3 separate regions of the Homo sapiens genome follow, and regions 1 and 2 are each linked to region 3. Evidence: promoter capture Hi-C in human tissues and cell types (Jung and others, 2019). All regions are on one chromosome and are shown on one strand. Each heading gives the region's core, a stretch centred on a gene start or on the middle of the fragment in contact. The rest is flanking DNA. Distances are from core to core; before and after follow the strand shown. Region 1 overlaps TC2N (tandem C2 domains, nuclear). Region 2 overlaps TC2N (tandem C2 domains, nuclear). Region 3 holds the start of FBLN5 (fibulin 5).

Region 1 (3,748 bases), core at 906-3,405, 93 kb before region 3:
AATTTCACAATCCTTAACATTGTACTTGTGAAAACAGACAGTCTCTCAGCAATAGGCATACTCTATTGGAATAAAAATGCGGCCAAGCGCGGTGGCTCACGCCTGTAATCCCAGCACTTTGGGAGGCCGAGGCGGGCAGATCACCTGAGGTTGGGAATTTGAGACCAGCCTGAACAACATGGAGAAACCCCGTCTCTAGCTAAAAATACAAAAACCTTAGCCGGGTGTGGTGGTGCATGCCTGTAGTCCCAGCTACTCGGGAGGCTGAGGTAGGAGAATCGCTTGAACCCAGGAGGCGGAGGTTGCGGTGAGCGGAGATCATGCCATTTCACTCCAGCCTGGGCAACAACAGTGAAACTCCGTCTAAAAAAAAAAATGCTCTGCCTCACTAGCCTTAACTTTTTCAATCGGGAAACCTGCCTTTGATCACATTTCCTAAAGCAAAGATTGTTGTGAAAGAATAGAGTATCAAGAATTTTTGAATTTTGTTACCCCCACCAATAGATCACTAACTGGTTGTTTAAAGCAAATGATCTCCCACTTTCCTACCTTAATAGATGTAATATAATGTGTGTGCTTTAATCTTAGCTTGACCAGTAAACCATACCATGTCAAGAAATTTGCATGACATGTTTGAGGAACAGTGAGAGGGCCAGACCCACTGGAGCAAGAGAAAGAGAAAGAGAAGGGTAGGAAGAGAGGGCAGAAGAACATGGGGTAGAGTTGGCCAGGCATAGTGGCTCACGCCTGGAATCTCAGCACTTTGGGAGGCAGAGGGGGCAGATCATGAGGTCAGGAGATCGAGACCATCCTGGCTAACACGGTGAAACCCCGTCTCTACTAAAAATACAAAAAATTAGCCAGGCGTGGTGGTGGGTGCCTGTAATCCCAGCTACTCGGGAGGCTGAGGCAGGAGAATGGCGTGAACCTGGGAGGCAGAGCTTGCAGTGAGCTGAGATCCCGCCACTGCACTCCAGCCTGGGCGACAGAGAGAGACTCCATCTAAAAAACAAACAAACAAACAAACAACGACAACAAAAACACAACATGGCTGTTATTAAACATTTGCTGCTACTCTAAATAGGCTGAGAAGCCATTGGAGAGTTTGGAGTTGAGAAATGACATGAACTGATTTCACCTTAGTACAGATCACTCCAACTGTTGGGTTGAGAATAGAATGGAAGGGACAGGGGCAGAGGTGAAGGCAGAGGGACCAGGTAACTGATTCTGCCTATAATGAAGGTGAGAGAGGAAGGTGGCTGGGACTCAGGGTGTAGGAGTGAAGGTGCCAGGTATGAGGGTTAAATGATATATACACAGCATAATAATTGGCACAGTCAGTCCCCAGTAGATGTTCACTGCGATAATGGCATTCTGAACCCCAAGACTCAATAGTAGATGGTTGGTTCATTGCATGGCAGACCCAGGTAAGTGATTACAAACTAGATAGTTGATGTCAGAATTAGAAAAGGAACTTTTTGAACATTTCTGCATGTATCAATTGAAGTGAAATTGAGTCAAAAGTAAGAGTTCATGCTGCCCTTCACTGAATTCTCTGCTTGGATTTTTTTTTTTTTTTAAAGTACACACACACACACACACACACACACACACACACACACACAATCTGTGATCAAAAAAGTTATTGAAGTGCTGCAGTTGCCCAGAATTCAGCCTGACCTTGCAGCACTCCTAGTTATTAAAAATCATTTCTATGGGCTTGCATTTTTTGGTTTAACAAGCACAAGAGGCCATGAACTCTTAATATCTGAAGCAAACGTGTTAAACATCTGGGATCTGGCATAAGCTTCTCCTGTGGGATGCATTGTTTGTGCAAACTTTTATTGAATTAAAAAAAAAAGTAAGTACTGAGTTTCAAAATATTCGTGTAACCTAGTAAGAATATTTCTCTGAATCCAGAGTCAAAATACAGAGTTTTAAAAACTGATTTATAAACTTAAATTTAAAAATAGGTTAGAAGTCTTAAAACACAGCGTGGTTTTGAAGTGGAACCAAACTTCAGCTCTAGCTCTAACAGGAGATGGCTGATCTAAGTTAAATAGGTTTTTCCAGGCTAAAGGCACAGCTTCTGACCACTCTAAGAAAGCCATAGGGTTTGCAGACAGGGTACTGGCCTAGAGTTTAGGGCAAGTTCTGTGGCTTAAACACAGATAATCTTGGGCAACTTACTTTACCCTGGGCTTGATTTTCCTTATTTCCTATAGAAACTGGAAGGAAAAATACTTACCCATGGGTCTTAGAAATGTACGAGGATAAGAAATAAAATAAAATAGCAAGTGACAGAACTTTTAAAAGCTCTACACATAAGATGAGGAGGAGGAGGAGGAGGAGGGGGAGGGGGAGGGGAAGGAGGAGGAGGAGATAGGAGAGGGGGAGGGGAAGGAGGAGGAGATAGGGGAGGTGGAGAGGAGGAGAAGGAGGTGGAGGAGGAGGAGGAGGAGGAGGAGGAGGGGGTAAAACATAAGAGATTCCTATTTGAAGATGCAAAAGACCAAACAAACTGAACAAAGCTTTTTAAAGAAGAAAGACTAAGGGTTGTCTTTGGAGTGTTCCTCTAGGGAGGGACAACCTCTTGTATTCCTTTAGTATCTCCTTGAAGCACCCAGGGAAGCATTCAGACACAGGGGACAGTCTTATCAGTCTAGACTAACTGACAGACGGACAGGTCCCTCTCCACTTCCACAATCCATACCCTGAATATTCTGAGGAGTAGGGGAGAGCAAAGCCTGGCTCAGCCCACCCCATTGCCTCTGCTAGACTGAAGGACAGGAAATAGAGAAGGAGCCAGTCCTCCCCAAAGAGGGATAGGGATAGCTTTTTAAACTCACCTCTCCCTTCTGAGAGGAGGCTGCTATTCCTTGCAACGTATTTTTGTGCAGCTGAGGATCTGGAGGGGTTCTGACCTGAACAATGGGCTGGGAGCTGAGTTTGGGAGCTGGAGTTCTGCATAATAGAGTAGGATGAATTTGGAGTTTGGGGACTGTGTAGAAAGAGGAGATGAAGAAACAAGTTGAGCAGGGGAAAGGAAGGATGGGTGGTTGAAGTGGGAACCAGTGGAACGGCAGGGATGGAGGGCTGAAAAGCAGGTTCGCTTCTGTCCCACCTTCCACTCCCAAATCCTCAGGAAATTTGCCTACAGACCCAAATGCAAATGCACTGTATTAATTTCTAGGGCTGCTGTACAATGTACCACAAACCGAGTGGCTTAAAACAACAGACGTTTATTCTCTCACAGTTCTGGAGGCCAGAAGTCCAAAATCAAGGAGTCAGCAGGGCCATGCTCCCTCCAGAGGCTCTAGGGGAGAATCCTTCCCTGCCTCTTCCTAGCTTCTGTTGGTCATGTAAATCCTTGAAGTTCCTTGGCTTATAGCCTCAAAACTCCAACTCTGCTTCCATCTTTGTGTGGCCGCCCTCTTCTCTGTGTATCTTTGTGTGTCCTCTTGTAAGGACATCAGTCATTGGATTTAGAGCTCACCCTATTCCAGCATGACCTTATCTTAACTTGACTAATTACATGTGCAAAGATCCTGTTTCCAAATGAGGTCACGTTCTGATGTTCCACATAGACATATATTTTCAGGAGGACACTATTCAACTCACTACAGTGTTGTTTATTTTTGTTTTTATGGAAATTGAGTAAGAGGTAGAATCTCATGTCAGGGCCAACTGGCAAGGGACGATTGGATGGTGCGGGGCGAGGGGAGTTGTGGCAGTGGTAAAAATGGCC
Region 2 (3,913 bases), core at 1,296-3,795, 120 kb before region 3:
ATTCATAATAACATTTTTAAAAACTTAAAATACAAATACTTTAAGAAATGAAGTACAAGACTTATACACTGCAAACCACAAGACATTACTGAAAGATATTAAAGAAGAGCTCAATACTTGTGAAGATATCCCATGTTCATGGATTGGAAGATGTAATATCATTAAAATGGTAATATTATTAATATTGCTAAGGTGGCAATACTCCCCAAATTGATCTACAGATTCAACACAATCTCTACCAAAATCCCTTCCAGCTTTTTTACAGAAATTGACAAGCTGATCCTAAAACTCATATGGGAACGTAAAGGGTGCAGAATAGCCAAAACAATCTTGGGGAAAAAAAAAGAACAAAGTGGAAAGACTAACTTCAAAATTTACTACAAAACTAGTCATCAGGACAATATAATATTAGTATAAGGACAGATAAATAAATCAATAGAATTAAATTCAGAGCCCAGAAATACACCCTTACATTTATAGTCAATTGATGTTTAACAAAGGTGCCAAGAAATTTTAAAGGGAAAGAAATAGTGTTTTCAACAAATGGTGCTAGGACACTGAATATCAATATTTATATCCACATTATATCCACATGCCCTTCCCACAAAAAAAAAAATTGGATCCCTGCCTCCCACCATATACAAAAACTAACTCAAAACTGATTATGCACCTATATGTAAGAGTTAAAACTTCAAAACTCTTAGAAGAAAACATAGGAGTAAATCTTTGTAAACTTGGGTTAGGCAGTAATTTCTTAGACACAACACCAAAAGCACACATGATCAAAGAAAAATTTGATGTACTAGATTTAATTGAAATTAAAAACTTTGTGCTTTAAAAGACACCATTAACAAAGTGAAAAGACCACTCGGAGACTGAGAGAAGATATTTGCATATCACACATCCAATAAAATATGGATTATATCCAGCATATATAAAAAACTATTACAACTTAATAATAAAAAGAAAAATAACCCAATTAAAAAATAGGCAAAAGATTTGAAAAGACACTTCTCCAAAAAAATCTACAAGTGGCCAAAAAGCACATGAAAACATGCTCAACACAGTTAGTGATTAGGAAAATGCAAATTAAAACTATAAAAAGACAACAATATACATTGATTAAAAAGGATAAAATTACAAAGATTGACCATTCCAAATGTTTATGATATGTGACAAGTAGTATTCTCCTATTCTACTGGTGGGACTGTAAAATGGCATGACCACTTTAGAAAACAGTTTGACAAGTTTCTAAAGTTGAACATATACCTGCTACATGATCCAGACATGCCATTACTACATATTTACTTAAGAAAAAAGCAATCACATGTTTACACAAAGAGTTGTACACTGGTGTTCATAGCAAATCTATTCAAAATAGCCAAAAATTGAAAACTATCAAGTATCTATCAACAGATTAATCCATTTAGAAAACAAACTGTGGCTCAATGGAACACTACTCAGAAATAAAGAAGTAAGCTGGTTAAACATGCAACAATATGGATGAATCTCAAAATAATTATGCTGGGCAAAAGAATGCCAACAAAAAGAGTATGTGCCATACAGATATGTGCCATATTCTCTTGCATTTGCTTTATTAATAACAAAGTCATATTTCAGTTCTTATTTTGTCTTTAATTTGGCTTTTCTAGCTATCTTATTAATACTGATTTGTAGCTGAACTCCACTGCATGATTCAATTTATATAAAATTGTAGAAAATGGAAATTAATCAATAGTAACAAAAAGTAGATCAGAGGCTGCCTCGGGACAGTGAGGAGTGGGGAGATGAAGCACAGAGAGGGACAGAAAGGAAGGACTTGGTGGGGCAGGAGGAAACTTTGGAGTGGGGGTAATATACTCATTATCTTTTTTTTTTTTTTTTTTGAGACAGTGTCTCGCTCTGTCGCCCAGGCTGGAGTGCAGTGGCGTGATCTCTGCTCACTGTAAGCTCTGTCTTCTGGGTTCACGCCATTCTCCTGCCTTAGCCTCCCAAGTAGCTGGGACTACAGGTGCCCACCACCACGCATGGCTAATTTTTTGTATTTTTTAGTAGAGACGGGGTTTCACCGTGTTAGCCAGGATGGTCTCGATCTCCTGACCTCGTGATCCGCCTGCTTCAGCCTCCCAAAGTGCTGGGATTACAGGCATGAGCCACCGTGCCGAGCCTATACTCATTATCTTGACTGTGGTGATGGTTTCATAGGTACATACATACATGAAAACATGAAAACATCAAATTATCGATTTCAAGTATATGTAACTTACTACATATCAATTAGACCTCAATAAACCTGAAAAAATAATACATAAGTAGAATTACAGAACATTAACAGAAAAAGAGGCCTCAAAAACATTAGCAGAGCCGAAGGCTTAGAAATCATTTTATCAGGGGCCAGGCATGGTGGCTCATGCCTGTAGTCCCAGCACTTTGGGAGGCCAAGGCGGGTGGATCACCTAAGGTCGGGAGTTCGAGACCAGCCTGACCAACCTGAAGAAACCCCATCTCTACTAAAAATAAAAAATTAGTTGGGCATGGTGGCACATGCCTGTAATCCCAGCTACTCAGGAGGCTGAGGCAGGAGAACCACTTGAACCCGGGAGGCGGAGGTTGCAGTGAGCCGAGATCACGCCATTGCACTCCAGACTGGGCAACAAGAGCAAAATTCCATCTCAAAAAAAAAAAAAAAGAAAAAAGAAATCATTTTATCAAAGTCCTTCTAATTTTACCCAAAGAAAATAATGAGTCAAGCAACTAGATAATGTTAGGTTTAGAACCAAACCCTAAGCTTCACAACTTTTTCTAATACACCACATTGCTTTAGGTAGGGTATGGGTAGAAGGGCAGGACCAGTCAGGTTAACAGACTATGTGCTGGCTATCTACATAGCCACATGTTTGCTTTTTTAGCAACAAGGAGAAACAAATATAAATGGTTAAAAGTATACTGCCTATGTTCCAATCCTGTAACTTTCACTTATTAGCTATATGACCTTAAATCTGTTACTTAACCTTTTTAACCTTCAACTTCTTCATCAATTAAAAAACAACAACAACAACAACAACAAAACACTTCTTAGGGCTATTGTGATGATCAACCAAAGTAATGCACATAAAGTATAAAACTAGTGGTAGGGCTGTTTTAAGAATAAATGTTTGCTGTCATCAGCGGCATCATTATTATATTTATTATCATCAGATCCCACTTACAACAGATCTGATTCATGCTAGGCACTTTACCCAATGCCAGAAATGATATGGGGACATTTAGCTAGAACATTCTAGTATGAGGACAGATTGTAAAAAGACTTAAATACTTCCATATCAATAGATAAAAGCTATAAACACCCTAGTCACTTTAACTCCTCCCTAGGCACCCCTGAGGTAAATGTCTGAAAAAGCAGGGGCCTCCATGACTCTGCTCCAATATTACAGTCAGTGCTCATGCACGACAAGTTGTTAAAATACTTTTAATATCACTTCCTTTTGAGATTCCCAAAGGGCTTATTTGCCTCTGCTGGTCTGACATAGTCTAGGAACAGCCTGTCTATGGTATTCTCACAAATAAAGGACAGTACATCATCACGACTTTCCCCTGCAAACCTGCTTTTCCTCTGGTATTTCCTACTACAGTGCCACTATCCAGCTAATTAACTAAGCCAGAAATACAAGTGCCATTCTTGAGTCCTTCTGCTCCCAAAATCCACACATCCAATTCATCCATTCACTTACAAGCATTTATTGAGCATCTACTATGTACTAGGCAATTTGCTAGGCACTGAAGACAAAATAGGGAACAAGACAGACAAGCTTTTGGAGCGCTTACAACAGAGGAGGGAGATAAACAGAAAAATAAACAAACACATGATACATTCAATCCAATGAGGAAAATTAACCAGGATTCAAAAGGAATG
Region 3 (3,722 bases), core at 836-3,335:
ACATGGCCCATCTGCATCAGCAACCCTGGGTATTAGAGGACCTGGAGTTAAGCTGACATCCAGAGGGAATAGGGCCCTGATACGATCTTAGGAGATGCGAGGCCATTTCCTTTATCGAGTCCCCAATCCAAAAAATAAGGACGCTGAGAGTCCACAAGTTTTCATGTAAGTGCCTGGGTGAGCCAGATTCTAGAACGCTGGAGACAGCTCTGACCTTATAAAGTGCAGAGCCAAATCCCAGGGCTTTTTGATATTTGCCATGGCCAGATTTATATCTGGAAGGAATGAAAGAACAATAACAAATTTATTTTCCAGTCTGTGTATTATGAATTTCAATGTTTTCCTGTTTCTTCACATGAAGTTTCCTTTCAGTTGGTTATAAAACCCTGTCTCGTTTATGTTGGAGAAAGAACAGGCTGACTGCAACACAGTGGACTTCAAGAGCTAGTTGAAAAGGCATGCTAACCCCATCTTTCCCCCTACTCCCCGCAGCCCCATTCCCTTTGGCTAGAGGCAGCCCTGGGACAGGTCTTGCCTCAAGCCCAGCCTCTTGGAAGAGCCACAGCTGAGTCCTGGGGGCCAAACAGGTTCCAGGCTAATAGGATTTTCCTAAAATGAAAGAATACCCAAGCACTACTGCCTCACAGCATCACGAATAGCTGCACCTTGTGATTAAAAAAAAAAAACCCTGGAAACTCCAAAAATGAACTAACTATAAGAATAGCTGGGGGGAGGCAGGTTGGTGCTCATAACCGGTCCTGGGAACTTTCTAAAGCAGGTGGGTTCGCCGGTGTTGTGCCTCAGCCTGAAACACAAGGAAAGCCGGAGAGACCAACCAAATACCAGGACTGCCTGTCACAGAAGTGCTGGTCCCCAATCCAGGATGACATTGTTACAGCTTAGTTTTCAGCACACACACACACACACACACACCCCACAGACACATACATACGCACACAAGGTTAATTTGTTCAAAGCAGTATGTTTTCAAGAGCTCGCTGAATAAAGACTGTGGGTGTCATTTAGGTAAAGTTCTCCAAGACTTAAGGATTACTTAACTGTAATTGCAATTTCCTTAAAGAATAGCAAAACATTTGCTTACATGTATCTCTGTCTGCAGTTCCCACTTCTCATTGGCTTGAAACTTCTGTGAGAATCCCACACAAACATAGAGCAAATCCAGCCCCGCGGTGTTCAGCTAGCCTGTCTGCTTGTCTATCAGCCGATGCGGCGCAGTAATTGCTAGTGAACTAGTAATTGGCCTCCCGAAATTTAAAAAATACATACAAAAATCCCTTAAAACGACAAAGTTGCTGCCCTTTCCAGAAAAGAAAGAGGAATGAAGCGCTGAGAATTTCGCAGCCCTCTCTGATGCTGGCTTTTGAAACTGTATTAGAAAATACCCACTCCCAAAAGAACGCTTCAAGATGGAAATTACAGAGGCGCAGCTTTTTATAATTAACAATATCATTGCATCACTAGCTCATGCCTTTTCCAATATCCTGACACCGCCTGAATCGCAGCCATAACCATTTTCCACCCATCGGATTTTTAGCAAGGCTTCCAGACCCTGGAGAAAGAAAAGTCCAGCGCCGAGAACCCACCTTTTTATTCCTGGCATGTCCAAGACGCGCGAGGAGGAGATGCGAAGGCGAGAAGAAAGCTCGCGGGCGGGACCCCCGGAGGAGCTCGGGCACGTCGGCCTCCTCTGGGCCCTCGGGGCTCGCGGGTGTTTTATTCCAGAGGGGCCGAGCGAGTCGTGGAGAGGACACGGGGAGAGCGCCGGGGTCCTCCCAGCCACTGCAGAGCCCTCAGCGCAAGCACCTGGTTTTGCTTAGCCCTCTTCAGTAATTCAGCATTAAACCAATTGGAGGAGGAATGTTAAAAATGAACACTTCATTTTCTAAGTATGTTAAACAATGCAAATGGGGCCTCAGTCTGGACACAGCTGGTTCAGATTACAGCGCTCACCAACTGGCTAGACTCCTCACAACAATCTTGGGGCGTCTGCCAGGGCCCAGTGCTCGGCGCTGGGAGGAGAGCCCTTCCCCGGCCGCGCTCGGCTGCGAGCGCCCGGGCAGAAGGCGAGGGGCGGGCGCGCGCAGGGGTGCGGGGGCTGGGAGGGCCCGGGCCCCTTGACCTTCCCACCCAGGGGCGGGGCGGGGCTGGCAGCGCGGCCCGGCGGGGAGGGGCGTGCACGCCCGCGCTGCGTGGCAAGGGGACCCGCGAGAACGTTGTCGCCTCCGGAAGGAAAGGGACTTGAACTCACGACCCACGCAGCTCCAGGGACTAGAAACTCACGATCGATTGGGAAACCAGAACCTACGAAGCAGAGGCTTGGGGCGAGCGACGGGAGAGTCGCGATCTTCCCGAAGAAGGGGTGGGGAGCAGCGGGGTGGGGTGGGGGGGAAGAGGATGGAATCCCGCTGGTGCGAATTCCAGACTTCAGCTTGTGCAATGCAAGTCTTAGGACGCTTTTCTCTCCCCGCCCTCATTCCCCGATTCTCCCTGGCATTTTCTCGCTTTCCTGGAAAAGTGTCCCCTGGCTCGAAAGTGATTTTAACAAGTTAAACGGTGATTTGAAGAAGGGACAGTCTGGAAAAGCAGAATGGTGGAGACAGCACATAAGACATGCTGAGTCCTTTGCATTCATTCTAGTGGAGGCTTCAACCTGTTTCTTTTTCCTGTTTGTTTGTTTGTTTGTTTGTTTGTTTTTAAGCCATTGGAGTACTTTTGTCAATGAAATCTTACAGAAGGCACTCACTCTATAAAACGCCAGTGGATGGACTGTGGCCTATCCCATCTGCTTCCACCTGCATCTTCCTACCTGCAGCCGAAAAGCCCTGATCCAGGTCCCCTGTCCTCACCACCACTCTAAGCAGTAGGAATGATCATCTCCATGTTATTAGAGGTGAAGATAAGAGAGGTTAGGTAACCTCCCCATAGTCACGCAGCTATTCATTGGTACAGCTGAGCCTCTGGAGTCTACATATTTAGCCTTCCCTAAGGCATTTTTGGGGGTAAGTAAATGGAATTCTACCCAAAGGAGAATAACAGAATGTGGATAGTTGTTGAAGCTGTGTCCATTATACTAGTCTAATCTATTTCCTTTTACGTGTTTGAAATTTCCTGTAAAACACTTTTTTAAATACCTTATGTTTATAAGGTTGTTCATCCCCCCATTGTTTGTAAAAGCAAAAGATTATAAACACCTTTAAGGTCGATCAGCAAGGCACCAATAGGGTTAAATAAAGTAAGGGGCTTCCAAAGGGACTATTGTGCAACCAATTAAAACCTAGACACTTAAGAGTCCACATCAAACGACTCCATTTATATAAAATTCAAAGTCAGATAGTGACTGGGAGGCAGCCCAGCCCCTTCTGGGTGCTGGTAATAATCTAATGATTGATCTGGATGCTGGTTATGTAGGGGTGTGTACATTTAATATTTGTGAAGTCTTATGTATGTTATATCTTATTTTGAAAAAAAGACTGAAACAGCTCCGTATGCACTGCTATTGAAGGGTTTCCAATATATTTTGTGGGTCAAAACAGTAGAATATTGGTAATTTCACATAGATTGATCTAATATAGTAATAAATGTAAAAAGTAAGCTGCAGAACTGTGTGTAAAGCATGCCATCATTTGTGGGAAAAAAAATAAATACATAAGTTCTTGCTTGTACACGTACAGAAAAGACATCACCTGAAGGATGCACAAGAA

Evidence for each region. The method cuts DNA at HindIII sites, captures the fragments that hold promoters and counts their contacts. A contact is called where the count stands out against the background at its distance.
Region 1: a contact is called between a fragment that was not itself captured here and the fragment with the promoter of FBLN5 in region 3, in 2 of the 25 tissues and cell types used here (adrenal gland and bladder).
Region 2: a fragment that was not itself captured here is called in contact with the fragment with the promoter of FBLN5 in region 3 in 2 of the 25 tissues and cell types used here (mesenchymal stem cells and small bowel).

The regions. Positions count from the first base shown.
Region 1 is chr14:91,852,066-91,855,813 of GRCh38, forward strand. All of the region lies in intron 1 of TC2N (tandem C2 domains, nuclear), which reads right to left. Among named protein-coding and RNA genes, the nearest start is that of TC2N, 14 kb to the right of the region's middle. The HindIII fragment of the contact is 4,085 bases long and covers 114-3,748 here.
Region 2 is chr14:91,820,847-91,824,759 of GRCh38, forward strand. The region is part of intron 1 of TC2N (tandem C2 domains, nuclear); the gene reads right to left. Among named protein-coding and RNA genes, the nearest start is that of TC2N, 45 kb to the right of the region's middle. The HindIII fragment of the contact is 3,467 bases long and covers 813-3,913 here.
Region 3 is chr14:91,945,609-91,949,330 of GRCh38, forward strand. FBLN5 (fibulin 5) reads right to left here and starts at 2,086. Exons shown (of 11, transcript NM_006329.4): 1 at 1,605-2,086. The coding sequence starts at 1,621. The HindIII fragment of the contact is 12,789 bases long and covers 1-3,722 here.